3 separate regions of the Homo sapiens genome follow, and all the other regions are linked to region 1. The links are contacts of gene promoters, found by promoter capture Hi-C in human tissues and cell types (Jung and others, 2019). All regions are on one chromosome and are shown on one strand. Each heading gives the region's core, a stretch centred on a gene start or on the middle of the fragment in contact. The rest is flanking DNA. Distances are from core to core; before and after follow the strand shown. Region 1 holds the start of RFPL3S (RFPL3 antisense). Region 2 overlaps DEPDC5 (DEP domain containing 5, GATOR1 subcomplex subunit). Region 3 overlaps SYN3 (synapsin III).

Evidence for each region. The method cuts DNA at HindIII sites, captures the fragments that hold promoters and counts their contacts. A contact is called where the count stands out against the background at its distance.
Region 2: a fragment that was not itself captured here is called in contact with the fragment with the promoter of RFPL3S in region 1 in 1 of the 25 tissues and cell types used here (dorsolateral prefrontal cortex).
Region 3: a fragment that was not itself captured here is called in contact with the fragment with the promoter of RFPL3S in region 1 in 4 of the 25 tissues and cell types used here (bladder, dorsolateral prefrontal cortex, mesenchymal stem cells and 1 more).

Annotation. Positions count from the first base shown.
Region 1 is chr22:32,369,372-32,372,905 of GRCh38, reverse strand. It overlaps RFPL3S (RFPL3 antisense), which reads left to right and starts at 1,642. Exons shown (of 5, transcript NR_104232.1): 1 at 1,642-1,708; 2 at 1,965-2,007. The HindIII fragment of the contact is 22,540 bases long and covers 1-3,534 here.
Region 2 is chr22:31,757,264-31,760,797 of GRCh38, reverse strand. DEPDC5 (DEP domain containing 5, GATOR1 subcomplex subunit) reads right to left here. Exons shown (of 43, transcript NM_001242896.3): 3 at 2,165-2,252; 4 at 96-142. It also overlaps the pseudogene RN7SL20P. Among named protein-coding and RNA genes, the nearest start is that of DEPDC5, 5.0 kb to the right of the region's middle. The HindIII fragment of the contact is 5,617 bases long and covers 1-3,534 here.
Region 3 is chr22:32,884,349-32,887,882 of GRCh38, reverse strand. The region is part of intron 4 of SYN3 (synapsin III); the gene reads left to right. Among named protein-coding and RNA genes, the nearest start is that of TIMP3, 84 kb to the right of the region's middle. RefSeq lists a silencer at 553-763. The HindIII fragment of the contact is 3,491 bases long and covers 73-3,534 here.

The DNA.
Region 1 (3,534 bases), core at 393-2,892:
TACATATATTTGTTCAATCTGGAAGCCATTGAAATTTTCTGTTTATAACAACACAGAATGACCTATTCTTTCAGCACCTACCCCATTACACCCTCTGTTTTATAATCACTGGACAAAATATAGCATCATCTATATTAATGCAGATTGTATACATCATTTGTGACCTATTTATTTGTTCTAGAAATTTGTACTTAGCAATGATAGACATTTGTACTGTAATATTTATATCATGAAGGGTACCTATTCTCTTTGAAACATAGCAACTCTCTCATCTTAACCCTAAAATTTTCATTTGTTCTATTTATTTTAGGGCAGGTCACTTTCAACAGCTTGTTTTCTTGGGCATATCATAAAAGTATTTGCAATTGGGTGTTATGTATCAGCCAGAATACACACGTAGTTATACATTTTGAAAGTTATCTAAAATTCTGCATTCAGAAACACTTTAATTATATGTATTAGGCTGGGCATGGTGGTTCACGCCTCTAATCCCAATACTTTGGGAGGTCGAGGTGGGTGGATTGCTTGAATCCAAGAGTTGAAGACCAGCCTGGGCACCATGGAAAAACCCCATCTCTACAAAATATTAGCTGAGCATGGCGGCAAGAACCTGTAGTCCCAGCTACATGGGAGGCTGAGTTGGGAGGATCACCTGAGCCTGGGAGGTCAAGGCTGCAGTGAGCCATGATCAAGCCACTGCACTCCAGCCTGAGTGACAGAGTGAGACCCTGTCTCAAATAAAAAATTATATGTATTCACCCAAAGTGTTCACCCCACCGAGAAGATGCACTGGTGAAAATATAGTGATTTTTTTTTCCTTTAAATACTCAGTGAATGGCCAGCCGTTTACATACACAATGGTAGACAAATTCCTCTGTGAATTCACAAAGTTTGGGAGATAAATAAGTGCATAGTAATATATAGAGATAAGTGGAAAAATAAGTTTCATAATTATATTGTGAGAGAAATATGATTTTTATAATATCAAGTAACACTTTTTTCTAATTCTGAACAGTTTATTGCTTCTAGAAACATTAGATCACTCAGGAATGGTAGAAATATGACTTTTTAGGGAAATATGACTTTTAAAATGTGACTTTAAAAAATGTCACTTTTTAAGAAACATGACTTTTATAACAATATCCATTTATGCTGTCTTTAATTCTGAACAGTTTGCTTATTGGTTCTAGAAATATTAGATGACTCAGGAATGGTAGAAATATTTGGCAATGGAATTTCGAATCGAGAATGGAACTTCTGGTTGTTACTAACATATCGGTTTTGCCCCTGCTCAGTTTGAAATTCTTGCCATTGAGTGTATTTTGGGGTACACAATTTCTCCTCCTAAAACTTATTTTAATAAGCACAGAATAGTAATTAATGAGCTTGGGTTTTGTTGTTTTTTTTTTAAGTAAAACGCCTAATCTTTTATTTTATTTTATTTTATTTTATTTTTTTACGGAGTCTCGCTCTGTCGCCCAGGCTGGAGTGCAGTGGCGCTATGTCGGCTCACTGCAAGCTCCGCCTCCCGGGTTCACGCCATTCTCCTGCGTCAGCCTCCCGAGTAGCTGGGGGCTCCCGCCACCACGCCCGGCTAATTTTTTGTGTTTTTAGTACAGACGGGGTTTCACCATGTTAGCCAGGATGGTCTCTATCTCCTGACCTCGTGATCCACCCACCTCGGCCTCCCAAAGTGCTGGGATTACAGGTGTGAGCCACCACTCCCTGCCGTAAAAGGCCTAATCTTTAATGACCCTCCTGTGCGTGTGAAAGCACTCTTGTTGGTGCAGCAGAAAGCGGACCTCACAATACACATTGTGACTTTACCCTGAGACGTTGATGATGCTCCTATCACCATGGTTATGTGATTGGGTATATCTTGCCCTCGGTCCTAACTGCCACTGTCTGTGCTGAGTTTTTCAAAGTTCATAGCAGGTTGAACATGCTTGCTGTCATTTTCACAGATTCTGGTCTTTCTTATGGGGAACCTGAGTTCCTGCATTAAAGGTATGTTCACATTGGCCTGTTGAATGCTGTCCTCTCAAATGTACTAGTTAATATTTAAAAATATATTTTATTAAAAAATTCTCCTCTGTATTTTTCATATGCAGTTATAAATGTGTTTCCCGGTTATGTTTTATTCCTCAATTTATATATTTGATTCTAGTATCAAGCAGGATGCCTTTGAGCTTTTCCTTTATTTAAAAGACATGTCTTATTTCCTGTTACATCTGGCACCCCTCAAACCACCCAATTAGGTATCCTTCTGGGAAAAATATGGCAAAGTATGTTTTAATGCAGTTTTTACCTAATTAAGAACCTATTAAAATCATTAATTTTAAAAATTAGGAGCAAAGCTAGAATGATGCAGATGTCTTTGAGGCTTTTAACACAACGAAGTGTGTCCATCTTTGTCTTTTGTTGTTGTTTTTTTGTTTGTTTGTTTGTTTTTGAGATGGAGTCTCACTCTGTCGCCCAGGCTGGAGTGCAACGGTGCGATCTCGGCTCACTACAACCTCCGCCTCCCGGGTTCAAATGATTCTCTCGCCTCAGCCTCCCGAATAGCTGGGATTTCAGGCACCCACCATCATGCCCGGCTAATTTTTGTATTTTTGTAGAGACAAGGTTTTACCATGTTGGCCAGGCTGGTCTTGAACTCCTGACCTCAGGTGATCCACCTGCCTCGGCCTCCCAAAGTGGTGGTGTTACAGGCGTGAGCCACCACACCAGGCCCTGGCCTGTTTTTAGTATGTCTTTCCTCTCTCCTTTTTCATGAAATGTGTATTCAGTTTAGTAAATTTGGAATATGTCATTTATATTCACATATTAACTTTTTGAAAAGAAGTAAGAATGTGTATTGTCTATGTGTCAGTGTGTGAAACAAAACACACTTATTTTTATGATTGGGGTTTATCCAAAATGATAGAGATAACAATTATAGTCAATCACCCAAACCACTTACCTTTCCAAAGGTAAATATAATCAAGTGTAATCATTTTTTCTCATCCAGAGAGTAGTTCATATTTCAACATACAAAGATAGAGAAGTGAAATGAATCGGTAAACACTATTAACCAAGAACATACAGATTTACTCACACCAGGAAACACGTAGGTCACATACATATATGTAAAGATACATTTAAAAATAATAAGATGATAATTGTACAAGTTTGCATATAAAGTGTAACTTTGAAAAACTGTTAATACTGTTTCTGATGGATTGTGTGACTTAGTTCTCCTGACCTATCCTTCAGAGTTCTTTCTAAGGAGGTTGTTCGTTCCATGACTTGGAAACAATCGAAAGTTAGAGGCACTTACATGTGTTAAGAATAAATAAGGCAGCTGGGCGCGGTGGCTCATGCCTGTAATCCCAGCACTTTGGGAGGCCGAGGCAGGCAGATCACCTGAGGTCAGGAGTTCAAGACCAGCCTGACCAACATGGAGAAACCCCATCTCTACTAAAAATGCAAAATTAGCTGGGCGTGGTGGTGCACACCTGTAATTCCAGCTACTCAGGTGGCTAAGGCACAAGA
Region 2 (3,534 bases), core at 1-2,500, 610 kb after region 1:
TACTTGCCCTCATCCCTTGAAATTATGAAGAGAGATTTCTTACAGTTTCTGAGGCAGTAAATAAAAAATTCTAAGAAGAGTGATATAATTCTTACCCTTCTGTAAATCTTCCTTAAGAGACTTGACCTGCAAAAGCAGAGGGCTGAAAAAGAAAGCAACAAGAGAGTTGGGATACCGTGAACAGTAACTCCCTAGCAACCTTCATCCCCGACAAAAGGCAAATAGGTCACTCTGGCCATTCTGTGACTTACAGCACAACAACGGGAGAAAGCTCCCTCAGAAACAAAGAAACTCGGCCAGGTGCGGTGGCTCACGCCTGTAATCCCAGCACTTTGGGAGGCCGAGGCAGGTGGACCACGAGGTCAGGAGATCGAGACCATCCTGGCTAACACGGTGAAACCCCTTCTCTACTAAAAAATAGAAAAAATTAGGCCGGGTGTGGTGGCTCATGCCTGTAATCCCAGCACTTTGGGAGGCCGAGACGGGCGGATCATGAGGTCAGGAGATCGAGACCATCCTGGCTAACACAGTGAAACCCCGTCTCTCCTAAAAATACAAAAAAATTAGCCGGGCATAGTGGTGGGCGCCTGTAGTCCCAGCTACTTGGGAGGCTGAGGCAGGAGAATGGCGTGAACCCGGGAGGTGGAGCTTGCAGTGAGCCAAGATTGTGCCACTGCACTCCAGCCTGGGCGACAGAGCAAGACTCCGTCTCACAAAAAAAAAAAAAGAAACAAAGAAACTCCATACGCACTAAAGGAAATGGACAAATGCTACAGAACCTTTCAGTTGTCATCTCAGCTTTAAAACCAGAAAGAGGCTGGGCTCGGTGGCTCATGCCTATAATCCCAACACTTTGGGAGGCCAAGGCAGGTGGATCACCTGAGGTCAGGAGTTCGAGACCAGCCTGGCCAACATGACGAAACCCTGTCTCTATTAAAAATACAAAAATTAGCCAGGTGTGGTGGCCCACACCTGTAGTTCCAGCTACTCGACAGGCTGAGGCAGAAGAGTCACTTGAACCCAGGAGGCAGAGGTTGCAGTGAGCCGAGGTGGCACCACTGCACTCCAGCCTGGGTGACAGAGCGAGACTCTGTCTCTTAAAAAAAAAAAAAAAAAAAAAAGGCTGGGCGCGGCAAGGTAGCTCATGCCTGTAATCCTAGCACTTTAAGAGGCCAAGGCAGGCGGATCACGAGGTCAGGAGTTCGAAACCAGCCTGACCAACATGGTGAAACCCCGTCTCTACTAAAAATACAAAAATTAGCCAAGCATGGTGGCACGCGCCTGTAATCCCAGCTACTCAGGAGGCTGAGGCAGGAGAATGGCTTGAACCCGGAAGACAGAGATTGCAGTGAGCCAAGATCCCACCACTGCACTTCAGCCTGGGTGACAGAGTGAGATTTCATCTCAAAAAAAACAAAAAAAAACAAAAAAAACAAAAAAAACGGCTCGGTATGGTGGCTCATGCCTGTAATCTCAGCACTTTGGGAGGCCTAGCAGGATGGATGACTTGAGACAAGCCTGGACAATATGGTGAAACCCCATCTCTACTAAAAAACACAAAAATTAGGCCAGGTGCGGTGCCTCATACCTGTAATCCCAGCACATTGGGAGGCCAAGGCCAGTGGATTACCTGAGGTCAGGAGTTCAAGACCAGCCTGGGCAACATGGTGAAACCCTGTCTCTACCAAAAATGCAAAATTAGCTGGGCGTGATGGCGCATGCCTGTAATCTCAGCTACTCGGGAGGCTGAGCCTGTAATCTCAGCTACTCAGGAGGCTGAGGCAGGACAATCACTTGGGGCTGGGAGGCAGAGGTTGCAGTGAGCTGAGATTACACAACTGCACTCTAGCCTGGGTGACAGAGCTAGACTCCATCTCAAAAAAAAAAAAACGAAGGAATGGACCACTTTTGAAAAATTATTTGTTGATCAAATCCTAGAAGGCATGATCATTTTTTTTTAAGACAGGGTCCCTCTATGTTGCCCAGGCTGGTCTCGAACTCCCGGGCTCAAATGACCTACCCACCTCAGCCTCCCAAAGTGCTGGAATTACAGGATTGAGCCATCACAGCATGAGCATTTTGAAAGGCAAAGAGAGCTATCTGCCTTGGACATCATTTGGAAACAGTGAATTGCCCAGTTCCATGGATCCTATGAGACACTCACCTGTATTCATCGTTGGGGTGTGCAATCTCTACAATGTCTCCAAGCTTGATGTGAGGGAACACTTTGGGGTTCACAACTAGCTCATCATCTGAAAGACAATTCAGCCACTTCAAGTAGAAAAACACTCATTAGGTACACTGTATGTTCTCATACTGGTTCCTCACAACCCCATCAGGATGGTATTGCCACCCCATTGACAGATGAGGTTCTATTTTGAAACGAGGCTTACAATGACTAATGGATTCACACAGGAACACCAAGCTACACAGCAGCAGAGTGGGATGGCGCTCAGGTACCTTTGTCTCCATACCCTGTGCCCTTTCTACTACCGCACTGCTTCCAGGGGCAGAGCAGCCCTTAGTATCTGGGAATTAGGCTTCTGGACAGCCTTTTACCCCCTCAAATATTGTGTATCTGGCATATAACAGGAACAAAACAGGCTGGTTCCCACAGATACAGCACAATTCGTTACAGTTATTCAATGTTCAAAGAATTTCCCAAACAGTGTCTTAATGTGACCGTCACAATAAATCTTTAGATCTAACAGGAGTAAGAAAATAACCTCAGAGAGTCCAGGAGCAGTGGCTCATGCCTGTAATCCCAATACTTTGAGAGGCCGAGATGGACAGATCACCTGAGGTCAGGAGTTCAAGACCAGCCTGGCGAACATGGCGAAACCCCGTCTCTACTAAAAATACAAAAATTAGCCAGGTGTGGTGGTGGGAGCCTGTAATCCCAGCTACTTGGGAGCCTGAGGCAGGAGAATCACTTGAACCCGGGAGGCAGAGGTTACAGTGAGCCGAAATCACACCACTGCACTCCAGCCTGAGTGACAGAAAGAGACTGCATCTCAAAAAAATAAATAAATAAAATAAGAGGGATGTGGTTTCATGTTTATCTACCCCTGCCCCTCTACTAGGGATGGGGAGAACTCTATCAAATATTGCAAACTCAGAAGCATAAAGACAGAATGACTGTTTTGCTGTTTTAATTTGCAAGGAAAGACATCACCTTTAATTATGCTAATATCATGACAATTAAGTTTATCTAGATTTCAAATATAATCAGACCCAACAAAAATTTAGCCTAGTAAAATGAAACATTGGCTTACTCCCAAATTTTTTTGTTTTCTTTTAGAGATAAGGTCTTGCTGTTGCCTAGGCTGGCGTACAGTGGCTATTTACAGGGACAATCCCACTGCTGATCAGCACAGGAGTTTTGACCTGCTCTGTTCCCAACCTGAGGTGGTTCACACTTCCTAAGGCAAGCTGGTGGTCCCCCACTCCTGGGAGGTCACTATATTGATGCAGAACTTAGTGCAGACACCCAATCAGCATAATGTACTATAGTCTGGAACTCCTGGGCCCAAG
Region 3 (3,534 bases), core at 569-3,068, 510 kb before region 1:
CCAACCATTCTCCTCTAGACCTTTCCCCAAGAAAAATGAAATATGTTATCTAAATGACTTTTATAAGAATCTTCATAGCAACTTTATTCATCATAGCCCCAATCTGGAGACAACCCAAATGCCTGTCAACTCGTGAACAATAAACAAAATGTGGTACATGCACATAAGGGAATGCTTCTTGGGGATAAAAGGGAACAAACTACTAAGAGATGTATATTAGTTGTCTACAAACTTATCAGCTTCAAACAACACATATTTATTATCTCACAGTTTGTGGGGGCCAGGGGCTGGGCATGGCTTAGCTGAGTCTTCTGTAAGACTGACATCAAGATTGTCATCTGGGGCTCAGTTCTTATCTGGAAGCTCAACTGGCAATGGAACCACTTCCAAGCTCGCTTGGGTTGTTGGCACAAGTCATTTTTCTTGTGACTGTGAGATTAAGGGCCTTGGCTTCTTGCTGGTTATCAGCGGGAAGTTGCACACAGTTCTTTTTTTTTTTTCTTTTCTGAGACACGGTCTCGCTGTTGCCTAGGCTGAAGTGCAGTGGAGTGATCATAGCTTGCAGCAGCCTCAAACTCTTGGGCTCAAGTGATCCTCCCACCTCAGCCTCCCAAGTAGCTGGGACTACAGATGTGCATCACCATGCCCGGATAATATTGTTTATTTTTGGTAGAGATGAGGTCTCACTATGTTGCCCAGGCTGGTCTTGAACTCCTGAACTCAAGCGATCCTCCCACCTTGACCTCCCAAAGTACTGGGATTACAAGCATGAGTCATGTGGGCCTTTCCATGGGTCTTTCTATAACATGGCAGCTTGTTACTTCAAAGCAAGGGAGAACAAGAATACATCTGGGAGCAAGACTGAGACTTATCTGACGTAGCATTATCATGGGGTGCCAACCCATCTCCTTTGCCGTATTCAGCAAACCAGTCACAGATCCCACCCCCTCCGGGGGAGAAGCATGTAAGGGCTTGAACATGAGAGGCAGGGTCCTGCGGGCTGCCTTCCAGTCCATACTTGGCAGCACGTAACTATGCAGACAAATCTCAAAGCCATTATGTTGAGGAAAAAAAGACTAGAGACAAAAGAGTACACATTTCATGATTCCACTGACATGAAATTCTAGAACAGGCAAAACTAATCCATAGTCACTGAAACATCAGTGGTTGCCCAGGGCCAAGGGAATAAGGGGCAGGGGATTGACAGTAGAGGGACACAAGTCACCTGTGAAGGTGATGAAAGTATATCTTTTATTTGGCATGATGATTATATTAGTGTTACATATGTCGAAGCAAATCAAACTACGTTTCAAATGGGTGCATTTTATTTTATGCAAATCATGCCTTTATAAAGTATATATTTTTAAATGGCTCTATGAATTGCACATTTTTATCCCCTTTTTACCGATGAGGAAACTGAAGCTCAAAACGTGTCCAGAGTCGCACAGCTGGGGGAGCCGGGATCCTAAGCCAGGTCTAACTGCAAAGCCCCTTCTCTTTTCCTTTATGCATGACCCCTAATTCTCCTCGAAGCTGCCATTTTCACAGGGAGAAACGCAAGGCTTGGAGAGCTAGAGAAACATTCTCACGACCTCGCAGAAGTGACTGAGTTCTCAAGCTTATGTGTTCTGATTCCAGGTCAAGGGGTTGCCAGACCTCATTAAAGTCTTGTAGCAGATTTTAAGAGTTACTATTGCATTTTTAAAATTTACCCATGTGTGTCATTGTAAACACACTTAGCAATATTGTTCTTTAAAACACACAAGCTTATGAGCCAGTTCTTTACAAGAACAACATATGGCTGTCCATGAAAATAAAGGTTTCGGAAGGTGTGCTGTCTACTGTTGGTTGCCCGCCTTCTTTCATGCTTGCCAAATCCTGAGTTTATTCAGCTGTTTGGTGGCCATGTGCTTCAAGGAAACATAGGCCCCTTTCTGGTGCCATGAGGTGAATCCTGGTTCGTTTCAGCCAGCTGTGGTCATTCTGTTCCCACTGGGAAAGGTGTTTAGAAAAGGGAATATGGGCCTGGTGCAGTGGCTCATGCCTGTAATCCCAGCACTTTGGGAGGCAGAGGTGGGCGGATCACCTTAAGTCAGGAGTTCCAGACCAGCCCAGCCAACATGGTGAAACCCCATCTCTACTAAGAATACAAAAATTAGCTGGGCATGGTGGTGGGCGCCTGTAGTCCCAGCTACTCGGGAGGCTGAGGCAGGAGAATCGATTGAACCCAGGAGGTGGAGATTGTGGTGAGCTGAGATCGTGCCACTGCATTCCAGCCTGGGCAACAGAGCGAGACTCTATCTCAAAAAAAAAAAGGAAAGGGAAGATGATGCAGTTCTGACCAGGGAGGCCTGAGATGTACCTGCCGGGAGGATTCTGGAACATCCACCATGCTTCTTAAAAGCGACACAAGAAAGAGACTCTTTTTCATAGGCATGAGGGTATGGCCCGGGGCACCAGGGTGGCTCACTGATAACGTGAAGGAACAGTATGAGAACAAAAGTCCATCCTTGAGAACAAGAGTCAGAAGGACACAAAACATTTAGATCCTTGAGTCTGACATTGAGCCTCTGATTTACTCGGCCCTGTGATTGCCCTAGCTCAGTGATATGAGCTCATGCATTTTCTTTATTGATTTAGTCATCACTGTTATTTGCAGCCAAAATCATCTTCATATTCAGAAGATATAAGCAGATACTGTCAAAAGTCTTTTTTTTTTTTGCACCCAACTCCATGGTGCATAAAATTCTTATGAATGCTTTTATACATGACATTCCATTCAAAATTAGTGGCAGGCAATTGAAATTATACACTATGTAAGTGTTAAGATTAGTTTCATTCTCGGAAGTGTTTGTTAATAGCTAAAGCTTAGAAACAACCTAACTGTCCATCTGTAGGGAACTGGTTAAATAAATTACGGTCGAGCCACATAATGAGATACAATTATAAATAAAGAAGCATCTCCATTTGTACTGATATGAAATGATTTTCTTTTCTTTTCTTTTTTTTGAGACAGTCTCGCTCTGTCGCCAGGCTGGAGTGCAGTGGCGTGATCTTGGCTCACTGCAACTTCCGACTCCCTGGTTCAAGCTATTCTCCTGCCTCAGCCTCTTGAGTAGCTGAAATTACAGGCACGTGCCACCACACCCAGCTAATTTTTGTATTTTTAGTAAAGACAGGATTTCACCATGTTGGCCAGGATGGTCTGTCTCCTGACCTCGTGATCCGCCCGCCTTGGCCTACCAAAGTTCTGGGGGTTACAGGAGTGAGCCACCGCACCCGGCCACGAAATGATTTTGAAGATATGCTACTTTGAAGAAAAACAAGTTAGAACAGTATACAGGAGACTTTGAAATCCAAGGTCATAGAAAAACATCTGAAGTTTATTGCCTCAATTCTTTATGTGGATTGGCTTATGTGATCCTCTTAGCAACACTCTGAAGTACATGTTATTGTTACCATTCTCTTTTTGAAAGATGGGTAAACTGAGGCATGGAACTGTTAACTAGTGTTCCTGGGATCCCACAGTTGTTT